Regions from separate parts of the Homo sapiens genome. Here all the other regions are linked to region 1. Evidence: promoter capture Hi-C in human tissues and cell types (Jung and others, 2019). All regions are on one chromosome and are shown on one strand. The core of a region is centred on a gene start or on the middle of the fragment in contact, and the rest is flanking DNA. Distances in the headings are between cores, read along the strand shown. Region 1 holds the start of TACO1 (translational activator of cytochrome c oxidase I). Region 2 overlaps DDX42 (DEAD-box helicase 42). Region 3 overlaps CCDC47 (coiled-coil domain containing 47).

Region 1 (3,722 bases), core at 693-3,192:
ATAAAACGTGGTATATTCATACAATGGAATATTATTTGGCAATAGAAATGAAATACTGATACATGCTACAACATGCAAGAATCCTGAAAACATCATGCTAAGTGAAAGAAGCCAGTTACCAAAGGCCACATAGTGTGTGGGCCCATTCATATTAAATGTCCAGAAGAGGCAAACCCACAGAGACAGAAGTAAATTGGTGATTGCCTAGGGCTGTGGGAATTGGGGGGAAATAGGGAATGATTGCTAATGGGTACAGGACTTCTTTTGGGGATGATGAAAATGTAAAATCAATTGTGCACAGCTCTGAATATTCTATAACACATTGTACACTTTGAATTGGTGATCTGTGTGATCTGTGAAATATGTCAAAACTTAATTTTTTAAAAAATGAGAACTGTGTTGGGCATAGGAAGTACAGTCCTACTCTCAGAGAATTTAGTATTACGGTAGAAACAGATATAAACATTTTGATATTTTTTTAAAAGGTAAGTGCTAAGGTGCAAGCATGTATGAAGGGCTATGGGCACCCACCGCACCTGGCTAATTTTTGTATTTTTAGTAGAGACGGGGTTTCACCATGTTGACCAGGCTGGTCTTGAACTCCTGACCTCAAGTGATCTGCCAGCCTCGGCCTCCCAAAGTGCTAGGATTACAGGCGTGAGCCACCGCACCCAGCCCCATGGAGGTTCTTATATAATAAAAAATAAAAAATCTATGCTTTTGTGCTTTGCATCCATTATCCCATTTAGTCCTCACAAGGCCATTCTATGGTAAGGAAACTGAAACAGGAAAGTAAAGGAACTTGCCCAAGGATACACTAGAAAATGGAACAACCAGGGTTTGAAGCCACCCAGTCTAACTGCAGAGGGCACAAACTTGGACTTCACACTGTCCTGCTTCTCTCTCTCTCTCTCTCTCTTTTTTTTTTTTTTTTTTGAGTTGGATTCTCGCTCTGTCGCACAGGCTGGAGTGCAGTGGCGCGATCTCGGCTCACTGCAACCTCCTCTTCCCGGGTTCAAGCGATTCTCCTGCCTCATCCTTCTGAGTAGCTGGCATTACAGGCGCGCGCCACCACGGCCGGCTAATTTTTTTGTATTTTTAGTAGAGACGGGGTTTCACCATGTTGGTCAGACTGGTCTGGCACTCCTGACCTAGCGATCCGTCTGCCTCAGCCTCCCAAAGTGCTGGGATTACAGGCGTGAGCCACCGCGCCCGGCTGTCCTGCTTCTCTACCTGATATGTCATGCCCTTTGGACTTAATCTCACCAGCATGGGAGTCACTACAAAGCTTTTCAGCAGCTGCCGCTTTGTTTCTCTCCATCTTCTAACGGATTCGGTTTTCTCTTTCGAGACAGCAGAGAGAAAATGAAGAGGGGAGTTTAGCTCCAAAGGGCTTGTCTGATCATTCTCCCTCTCCCAAAGGCCTGTGACTCATCTGAGTCTGTCCCAAACCATCTCTTGCATCTAGGGGCTTAAGTGCACTGTGGCTATTTACATAAAACTTTATTACTTTAAAGCTCTAAGGGCTCATTTTGTGTTTCTAACTTTCCTATGTTGATAAAGCAAATATTAGATCCTTATTTATAAATAGGGAAGACGTTCAGAGAGATTAAACATTTGGGCAATTCACTTCTCTGGCAGCAGTTTCTTTCCCAGTACAATGAGGCAACAACAAAATATCATTCTGGACTTGCTCAGATTTAGGCAGCAATTTGGAAGCAAAGTCAGTTTCATAACTCAGATGTGTCTCCACTAAAACATTATGAGAAACAAAGTCCGGCGCTCTCTAGGCAACCGTGAGGGCTTGAGCACTAACTAGATCTGCTCAAGGGCAAGAGAGGAGCGAGTACCGTGCAGCCACGGAACGGACTTTGCGGGCAGTGGGGACGTGTTTTTGGAGCGAACCCGGTAAAGGAAGTGTGCTACGCCATCAAGGGCCCCCAGTCCCGGGTGCCGCGGGGACAGTGTAGGGTCATTAGCTGTTGAGCCGCCCCGGGCGGGCCCAAGCCTTTGGATCTCAGGTGACCGGCACAGGCGGCCGCGGGGTCCGGAACTGCTTGTTCCGGCAGTGGAAGAGACGCGCCGGCGTTGGCCGCTGCTGCTAGCAGCTTGAACCCCAGGGTCGGGACCGATGTCGGCTTGGGCTGCTGCCAGCCTAAGCAGGGCCGCTGCCCGATGCTTGCTGGCACGAGGCCCCGGGGTCAGGGCGGCTCCTCCGCGCGACCCCCGGCCCTCCCACCCCGAGCCCCGGGGCTGCGGTGCCGCTCCGGGCAGGACGCTGCACTTTACCGCGGCTGTCCCCGCCGGGCACAACAAGTGGTCCAAAGTCAGGCACATCAAGGGTCCGAAGGACGTCGAAAGGAGTCGCATCTTCTCCAAACTCTGTTTGAACATCCGCCTGGCAGTGAAAGGTGAGACCCTGACGGTCACCCAGCACTGGCTGCCGCTGCCCTCTCAGTGCCCGCAGCCTCGCTTGCCTCTCGGAATTGGGCCCACCTAGATCTCCGGCCCTTCACTTTGTTTTCCTTCCCCAGTACCCACCATTGCCCACCTCATAAATCCTCAAAACACCTACCCTACGTTGGAGGTTCTCACTCACTTTTCCAGACGCTGAGCATCTGGCCAGTTTGTCAGAGAGGGAGCTGCTCTTAAGAAGATAAGCCGGTAAGGTAGAAGTGACTTCATCCTAATCTAGCTGGGTACTTAATAGAAACAAGCCCTAAGAGTCAGGGCAGATGTGTGTCTCTCCTGAAGAGACAAATCAACCCCTCTGAAGTCGCCTCAAGTACCTTATTGGTTGTGGCAGGGGCACTGAGTAAAGCTATTACTTAAGTGCTTAGGCCTTAGCTTAGGCCTTAGTTTGCTTCATTAATGTTTCCCCAAGACACATTTCCTTGGAAGGTAGATTTGCAGCCATGTCTTTTCTCCCTTAGGTCGCCACACTGAAAAGGCTTTTTTTCTGTTTAGGGCCAGACATCTGTAGGAGCAAAGGAAAAGTCCTGTAGAAAGCATGGACTTTGGACTGGGCGCAGTGGCACAGCCTGTAATCCCAGGCCAGAGGCAGGCAGATCACTTGAGGTCAGGAGTTCAGGACTAGCCTGGCCAACATGGGGAAACCCTGTGTCTACTAAAAATAACAAAAAAAAAAAAAAAAAAAAACAGCTGGGCATGGTGGTGCATGCCTGTAATGCTGGCTACTCGGGAGGCTGAAGCAGGAGAATTGCTTGAACCCAGGAGTTGAAGGCTGCAGTAAGCGAGATTGCTCTACTGTACTCCATCCAGCCTGGGTGACAGAGCAAGACTCCATCTCAAAAAAAAAAAAAAAAAAAGAGAGAGAAACTGTGGACTTTGGAGTCAGGAAGACTGGTTTCTGTCACTGACTAACCTTGAACAAGTAGCTTAACTTGAGTTTCTCTGAAACAAGGATAATACCCACCTTGAGGTAGTTTATGGTTTATGGCACATCATAGGCATTCAGTTAATGTTAATTTACCCCCTCAGCTCATGCCTGGTATTTGTTTGCTTCCTTTTCTTCAAAATTCTTGATATTAAGTTCAAGCAACTTTTATTTATTTATTTATTTATTTATTTTGAGACAGAGTCTCACTCTGTCACCCAGGGTAGAGTGCAGTGGCGTGATCTTGGCCCATTGCAACCTCCACCTCCCAGGCTCAAGTGATTCTCCTGCTTTAGCCTCCGGAGTAGCTGGGACTACAAGTGTG
Region 2 (3,722 bases), core at 656-3,155, 200 kb after region 1:
CTTAAACAATATGTTCTACCACTTTTGGTGACCTGTTTCTTATGTTACATTGCTTATGTCATCTTCAGTTTATAGTCTTAAATATATCTTATAGCTGGTTCAGTCCTCCGAAAAGTAGGTTGTTTGTATGCATTGCTTCTCTTTAAAACAATTTCTCTTCATCAGGAACATTTGGTTTGATAGAACACCCGATCATGCCACAGTATATATAGTGGCATTTTTAAAAATCTGAGATTGCCAGAAAAACTCACGGTGCTTTATAGTGAGAAAAAGTTGTGCAGAATGTGTATAAAGCCTTGGGAAAAATCATTTAACTCTTCTGACCTTGATTTTCAAATGTATAATGCAAATGATTAATTTTGATCAGTGATCATCAATTTGCAGTATATAAAAATTGCCTAGGCCGGGCGCGGTGGATCACCTGAGGTCACGAGCTCGAGACCAGCCTGACCAACATGGAGAAACCCCGTCTCTACTAAAAATACAAAATTAGCTGGATGTGGTGGCTCATACCTGTAATCCCAGCTTACTCAGGAGGCTGAGGCAGGAGAATCGCTTGAACCTGGGAGGAGGAGGTTGTGGTGAGCCAAGATGGTGCCATTGCACTCCAGCCTGGGCAACGAGAGCGAAACTCCATCTCAAAAAAAAAAAAAAAAAAGAATTGCCTATGAAAAATGTAAAAACTACACACATTTAACTCACTCCAGCCCCAAGGATTCTGATTTAGTAGATGTAGAACAGAATTTTCAGCCTTGAGACTACTGTCATTTGGCGCTGGATAATTATTTGTTGTGGGGCTTTCCTGTGTATTGTAGAATGTTTAGTAGCCATCCTCCGCCTCTAGAAACCAGTACTATCAGCTGTACCACCCCCAAAATTAAAAATGTCTCCAGACATTGCCAGATGTTGCCTAGGGGCAAAATTGTCCCAGATTGAGAGCAACCTTTCCAGAGTCAGATGTATGTGGTCTTAAGCTATACTTTGAGGAAGGCCTATCTGCCTGAATTGAAAGCACTTTATATCTGTAATTTTATCATTAACTTAAAGCAACTTAAGGTTATGTATTTGTGAAGCAAGCATTTTTGTTCATTTTTCCATGTGTGGCACATTATTACAGATAAAATTGTGCAGTCCATATACAGCCAATTTATACAGCATTTAGTTATTTCTCTTTGAAAAATAATTGTCAAAATGCAATTTGATGGCATCAAAATGCACTTGTCAAATACATAGCTAAAGCTATTATGGCACTTGTTCCAATCTAAAAATTGTTTCTTTCAGTGTTTTTAGTTGATGTCATTCTATACAGCCTTTTGTTTCATTAGGATCAGGCAGCTAGAGACATGAAGAGGCTTGAAGAAAAGGACAAGGAAAGAAAAAACGTAAAGTAAGTTGTTTTCTTCTCCCTCACAAAGGTTACGTGAAAACTGCTGAAGTATTGCAAAGTCTATTCCCCCAAAGTTTATAGAGAAAAAATATTGACGTACACTTGTGTACTTTACTTGAAGTTATTCCTGTATCTTGAATACTTTAAGAATAGAGATGGCAACAGTCTTTGCATTTGCAATAATTAAAAAGCATTCAGTTTGGTAGAATAGTATTTGGTCTTTGACTATAAATAGTTGTTTAGTAAACACAAGGAATGAATTATAGTAGAGTTTAGGGGAGCATAATTATTAAAGTTTAGGCTCATTGTTCTGAGTTTGTCGCATAATTAATATAAAATAGGTTTATGCCTATATGGTTGATTATGAGAAGTAATGGCAACTGTATCATGAAAACTATGTATAGTTGAACCTTTGAACAACACAGGTTTGAACTGCGTGAGTCCACTCATGGGGATTTTTTTCAACCAACACAGGTGGAAAAATAATATTCACAGTATAAAAACCTGTGTATAAGGAGGGCTGTAATAATACCTAATTTTATTTAGCTCCAGAGTGACATTGTGCTGTAGCAGCCATAGTCAGAACTTGAAGTACTTTATTTTCTGGGAAAGAGAAGTCTCTTTGCCTTGATGAATAAACTCCTAAGGCTTTTTCTGCCAGTCATGATTGGACTTTTTTCTCCCTGTGCTTGGCAGTCAGTGCTTCAGTCCTTTACCAGGGTTTCTGTTCCATATGGAGATTTAGCTGTGGTTTTGGTATTCACTGTATGTCATATCCCCTTCCACCTGCCCTGCACTGGTGGTGTTGCTTGCCGGTTGCCTTAGGAATAGCAAGCGCTCTAGGTTAGGCAGAAAGTCTGATTAGAAACAGATGGTTGTGGGAACTAAGCAACCATATTTTCTCTATAGCTCCTGAGACATACAGCAAGTGGTGATGGTCCCCTTCTCCATGTGAACTGTTTAAGCGTTTTATTCCCAAACTCATAAAGGAGTTAATGTAGTTTTCACTCTGTCCCCATCCCTAAGGTAACTGCTTTTGGCTGAAAACCATTTACCCTAGAGCTAGAAACTTTGGGGACAATAAGAAGGTTGTGACCTTTCTAGTATATGCCAAATACAAGATTTTTTTTTTCTTTTTAGTATGAAATACTTTTCACAACCGCATTGTTTGTTGTATGGATTCACAAAACTAGGACCATTTGGTATCTGTCTTCAGAAAGTTTTTACGTCTGATATCCTTGTTGGTAACCGCTGTTTCTAGGGGTATCATATCATCCCATTTAAAAGAAATGCAAACTGCAGATTATAGAGTGCAGCTACACATATATATAATGGGGTGGATAGTTTATAGTGTGCTCATTGCTGCTTTGTTATTATTAGTGTTGAGAGTTCCTGTGCTGTGTGGAATTCAACACTAATCTGCTGTAAGTATGGAGCTGGGTATGTGGAACATTTGCAGGGAAGTTTGTTTCTCCGCTTGTTTTTCCAGGGGTATTCGAGATGACATTGAAGAGGAAGATGACCAAGTGAGTTCCTATGCAGTATTTCTATCTTTTATTTTTATCCACAAAGTCTATACTGGGGACAAGCTAGAGCTTGCCTTCACTCAAAATGGCCATTCCTGACATTCAGCAGGGAATGTCATTTGATTTGCTCCTTTTGTACCTGTGTGACCAATTGGTAATACATAGATTCACATGGCTTTCCCCCATATTGAAGATGGAATTTTTGATCAACTGTGACATCCAAAGCAAATACGAGCTTTATTCAGCTTGCTTCTTTTTAAATCCAAAATTAATGTTTATTCTGATAAATCAAGTGGTAGAGTAGTGTGGGATCTATTGATGGCCTCTGGTAACATCTAACCTCTGTCTCTTAGTAAGTGTCCTGTTTGTGGTTCTTGTATTTCAAGCTGGAACATTAATTACTGTCCATTAGTCTCTTTTCCCCCATTGTTCAGTTGTGGAGTGATGAGAATCAGAGTGAGTGGTAGCCGTTTCCAGGTTTGTGACCTTTCTAATTAGCGTTAACTTCCAAACTTGGATTGTTAAAGCCACAGCATGTGTTCTATGGCTCTGGGCAGGGTTGATAGACACCCCACTCCAGGAAGGCTGTGGAACAGACAGATTTGTAAGTCTTCTATTAAACAAGTTGCAACATTTAATAGTACTAACTGTTTAATTCATTTCTTCTGATTGTTCTTCTGAATATTGCTATTATTAAAGGAATCATTGCTAGTAAGGATCTTGCCTTACTTGGTAGGTATGTTAACTGTGCAATTATCTGGTACACTATGTGCGCTAATTACAGGAGCAGAAACATTCTCAATTGTACT
Region 3 (3,722 bases), core at 809-3,308, 150 kb after region 1:
TATTTGCAGAATCTTGGTTTAGAGTCAGTCTTTATAGCCATTTCAACTGCTTGGTTTAAACAAAAAGCAACAATCTGGTTATCTACCTATAAATTTCACGGTATTTCTTTAAACACTGAAGTACTAAAAGCACTGATGATTTGTATTATAATTTTTAAAATATTTAAAACCTACACAGATTTCATAGATCATTCCTTTTATAAAATAATCAAAATAATTTGATTATCTGGAAAAAAAAATTCTTGAAACAGAGCCCTTTCCAGGTATCTTCAATCTCTGTAAAACCCCAAACCCCAAACAGAGTAGATGATGAAATAAGGATTTCTCAGTTGCCCAAGACTGTCTGAAATTTAAGGTTGAGAAATGGACTGGCGTTTTTCATGTTTCCTGTGAATTCAGAGCTTACAGGTGGCATCAGAACTCAAATCTCTGGGATGGCTTTACATGGCTTTCACTTTGATTTGTTTCATTTTCATTTGCTTCTTTTCCAACTTCTTTTGCTCACGCCTCAATGCAGCCTCCTAGAGAAAGAAGGGGTAATAAATAGAGAAAGGGAGTGGGGACGAGAGAATTCAAATTAAGCTTGAAACATATGTTAAAAAAAAATCCAAATTAGAATACTGCCTATAGTATTATTCAAAAACTTAGGCTTGCACCATAACATTCTAGAAGATAGTTATAAAAATAATTGCCAATATCTACATTAGTGAATAAAAATTAAATCAACTTCAAATGAAGCAAAGGTAAACTAAAATCTCAGTTTTGAAAGAAACTACTATAATTAACCAGCCTTTGTTATTCTGGTTTGATTTTTTTCTGTACCCAGGGAACACTTAGCCTGATGTTCACCATACCATTCATGATGGCATTATATCATAAATGTATAACTGCCAGAAGATACATTCTACTTCAGTTCAATAAATTTTAAGAATCTTGTTCCATCAGGTTATTCATTGCAAATTTCTTATTAGCACAGACACCATACCTGCACATAATACTTAAATTCATAATGCTCTATTTGAGACATCATATTTATCAAATGTGATAAAAATTATCAAATTTATCATATTTTTATTTAGGAATTAGGAAGTTACATAGAAGAGTAAGAAGGTTCAGGTTATTATTACGTGGACTGATAGAAGCCTTAGAGGTCAAGTCAAAGTATGACTTCACTGTTGGCCACTAGTGGTCACACCTGATTAAAAGTTTATTTCAGCTACAATCTCAAACTTCTTATTTTTAGGGTACTGGGGTAAAAATGTGCTCAGAAATATACTCAACTGGTACAGGATGGAGAAAATAGGGAAGAAAAGAAGAAGTGCAAAGCATATATAGTTCTTCATAGTGCAACAAATTAGGTTTCAAAGGGTGATTTGTAAATTCCTGGTTTGGGAACTATTGACTGTCTTAGGTTTTTTCTTTATTTTTTTTTGAGATAGGGTCTTGCTGTGTCACCCAGGCTGGAGTGCAGTGGCACAATCTCGGGTCATTGTAGCCTCTGCCTTCCGGGTTCAAGCCATTCTCCTGCCTTAGCCTCCCGAGTAGCTGGGATTACAGGCATGTGCCACCACACCCAGCTGATTTTTGTATTTTTAGCAGAGACGGGGTTTCACCATGTTGGCCAGGCTGGTCTCAAACTCCTGACCTCAGGCAATTCACCGACTATGGCCTCCCAACGTGCTGGGATTACAGGCGTGAGCCAATGTGCCTGGCCAGGTTTTTTTTTTTGTTTGTGTTTGTTTTTGAGACAGAATTCTTGCTCTGTTGCCTGGGATGACTCTCCTGCCTCAGCCCCCGGAGTAGGTGGGATTACAGGTGTGTGCCATCATGCCCAGCTAATTTTTGTATTCTTAGTAGAGATGGGGTTTCACCATATTGGCCAGGCTGGTGTTGAACTCCTGACCTCAAGTGATCTACCTGCCTCGGCCTCCCAAAGTGTTAGGATTATAGGCATGAGCCACCGCGCCCGGCCTATCTTAGGTTTCTTTTCAATTTTTTTTTGAGGTGGAGTTTCGCTCTTGTTCCCCAGGCTGGAGTGCAATGGCGCAATCCCGACTCACTGCAACCTCTGCCTCCCAGGTTCGATCCCAATGTCCTCTTCCCATTGTCCCAACCCCTACCTTCACCACATTCACTCTTTTCCCAGCACTATCTATCCCTATCTCCCATATTACATATTACACACATGTGTAAAACTAATGATACACAGAATACAATATCATGTATAAGAAATATTGGCCGGGCGCAGTGGCTGAGGCTGGTGGGCCACTTGAGAGGTCAGGAGTTCGAGACCAGCCTGGCTAATGTGGTGAAACCTCGCCTACACTTTGGGAGGCTGAGGTGGGTGGATTACTTGAGAGATCAGGAGTTCAAGATCAGCCTGGCCAATGTGGTGAAACCTCATCTCTACTAAAAATACAAAAATTAGCCAGGTGTGGTGGCGGGCACCTGTAATCCCAGCTACTTGGGAGGCTGAGGCACGAGAATCACTTGAACCTGGGAGGCGGAGGTTGCAGTGAGCCAAGATTGTGCCACTGCATTCCAGCCTGGGCGACAGAGTGAGTTTGTCTCAAAGAAAAAAAAAAAAAAAAGATAAATATATTTATGCTAGCACATTTAAGAGATATTTATGTTAAGTCAATACACATGAAAAATGTTCAACTTCAAATAATAATTCAAAAAATAGCTGGGCGTAGTGGCTCACGCCTGTAATCCCAGCACTTTGAGAGGCCGAGGTGGGTGGATCACCTGAGATCAGGAGTTCGAGACCAGCCTGACCAACATGGTGAAACCCCATTTCTACTAAAAAATACAAAAATTAGCCGGGCATGGAGGCAGGCACCTGTAATCCCAGCTGAGGCAGGAGAATCGCTTGAACCCAGGAGGCAGAGGTTGCAGTAAGCTGAGATCATGCCATTGCACTCTGCCTGGGCAACACAGCAAGACTATGTCTCAAACAAAACAAAACAAAACAAAACAAGTGGGATACCATTTCCCCACTACCAGAATAAGGAAAAAAAAAAAAAAAAAAGACCTGGCACGGTGGCTCACGCCTGTAATCCCAGCACTTTGGGAGGCTGAAGCAGGCGGATCACGAGGTCAAGAGATTGAAACTATCCTGAACATGGTGAAACCCCATCTCTACTAAAAATACAAAAATTAGCTGAGCATGGTGGCATGTGCCTGTAGTCCCAGCTACTAGGGAGGCTGAGGCAGAAGAATCGCTTGAACCCGGGAGGTGGAGGCTGCAGCGAGCTGAGATCGCGCCACTGCACTCCAGCCTGGTGAAAGAGCGAGACTCTGTCTCAAAAAAAAAAAAAAATTAATAACTAGTTTTTGAAAAGATGTGAGTGAAGAGGAGCTCTCTGGCTGGGCACAGTGGCTCACACCTGTATTCCCAGCATATTGGGAGGCCGAAGCGGGAGGATGGCTTGAGCCCAGGAGTTCGAAGCTGCAGCGAGCTACGATTTTGCCACTGTACTCTAGCCTGGGCAACAGAGTGAGACCCTGTCTCAAAAATAAAAATAAAAATAAATTAAAAGAAAAAAAGGAGCTTTCATATCATATACTGGTAGAGGGGGTTGGGTGGGTTGTTCTATTGAGTTCACCAGATCTTTTTACAAGGTGCCCAGACCAGATACTATAAAGTGGTAGTTCAAAAAAATTAAATGATTTACATCGACAAGAAGCTTACAATCTGACTCAGGTTAAGTTTCAGGCCC

What was found. Contacts are between HindIII fragments. The study calls those that stand out against the background at their distance.
Region 2: a contact is called between a fragment that was not itself captured here and the fragment with the promoter of TACO1 in region 1, in 1 of the 25 tissues and cell types used here (bladder).
Region 3: a contact is called between a fragment that was not itself captured here and the fragment with the promoter of TACO1 in region 1, in 1 of the 25 tissues and cell types used here (ovary).

The regions. Positions count from the first base shown.
Region 1 is chr17:63,598,953-63,602,674 of GRCh38, forward strand. TACO1 (translational activator of cytochrome c oxidase I) reads left to right here and starts at 1,943. Exons shown (of 5, transcript NM_016360.4): 1 at 1,943-2,411. The coding sequence starts at 2,132. The HindIII fragment of the contact is 17,557 bases long and covers 1-3,722 here.
Region 2 is chr17:63,796,713-63,800,434 of GRCh38, forward strand. DDX42 (DEAD-box helicase 42) reads left to right here. Exons shown (of 18, transcript NM_203499.3): 4 at 1,326-1,387; 5 at 2,877-2,913. Among named protein-coding and RNA genes, the nearest start is that of DDX42, 24 kb to the left of the region's middle. The HindIII fragment of the contact is 5,716 bases long and covers 1-3,722 here.
Region 3 is chr17:63,746,441-63,750,162 of GRCh38, forward strand. It overlaps CCDC47 (coiled-coil domain containing 47), which reads right to left. Exons shown (of 13, transcript NM_020198.3): 13 at 1-521. The coding sequence ends at 441. Among named protein-coding and RNA genes, the nearest start is that of STRADA, 6.5 kb to the left of the region's middle. The HindIII fragment of the contact is 4,620 bases long and covers 1-3,722 here.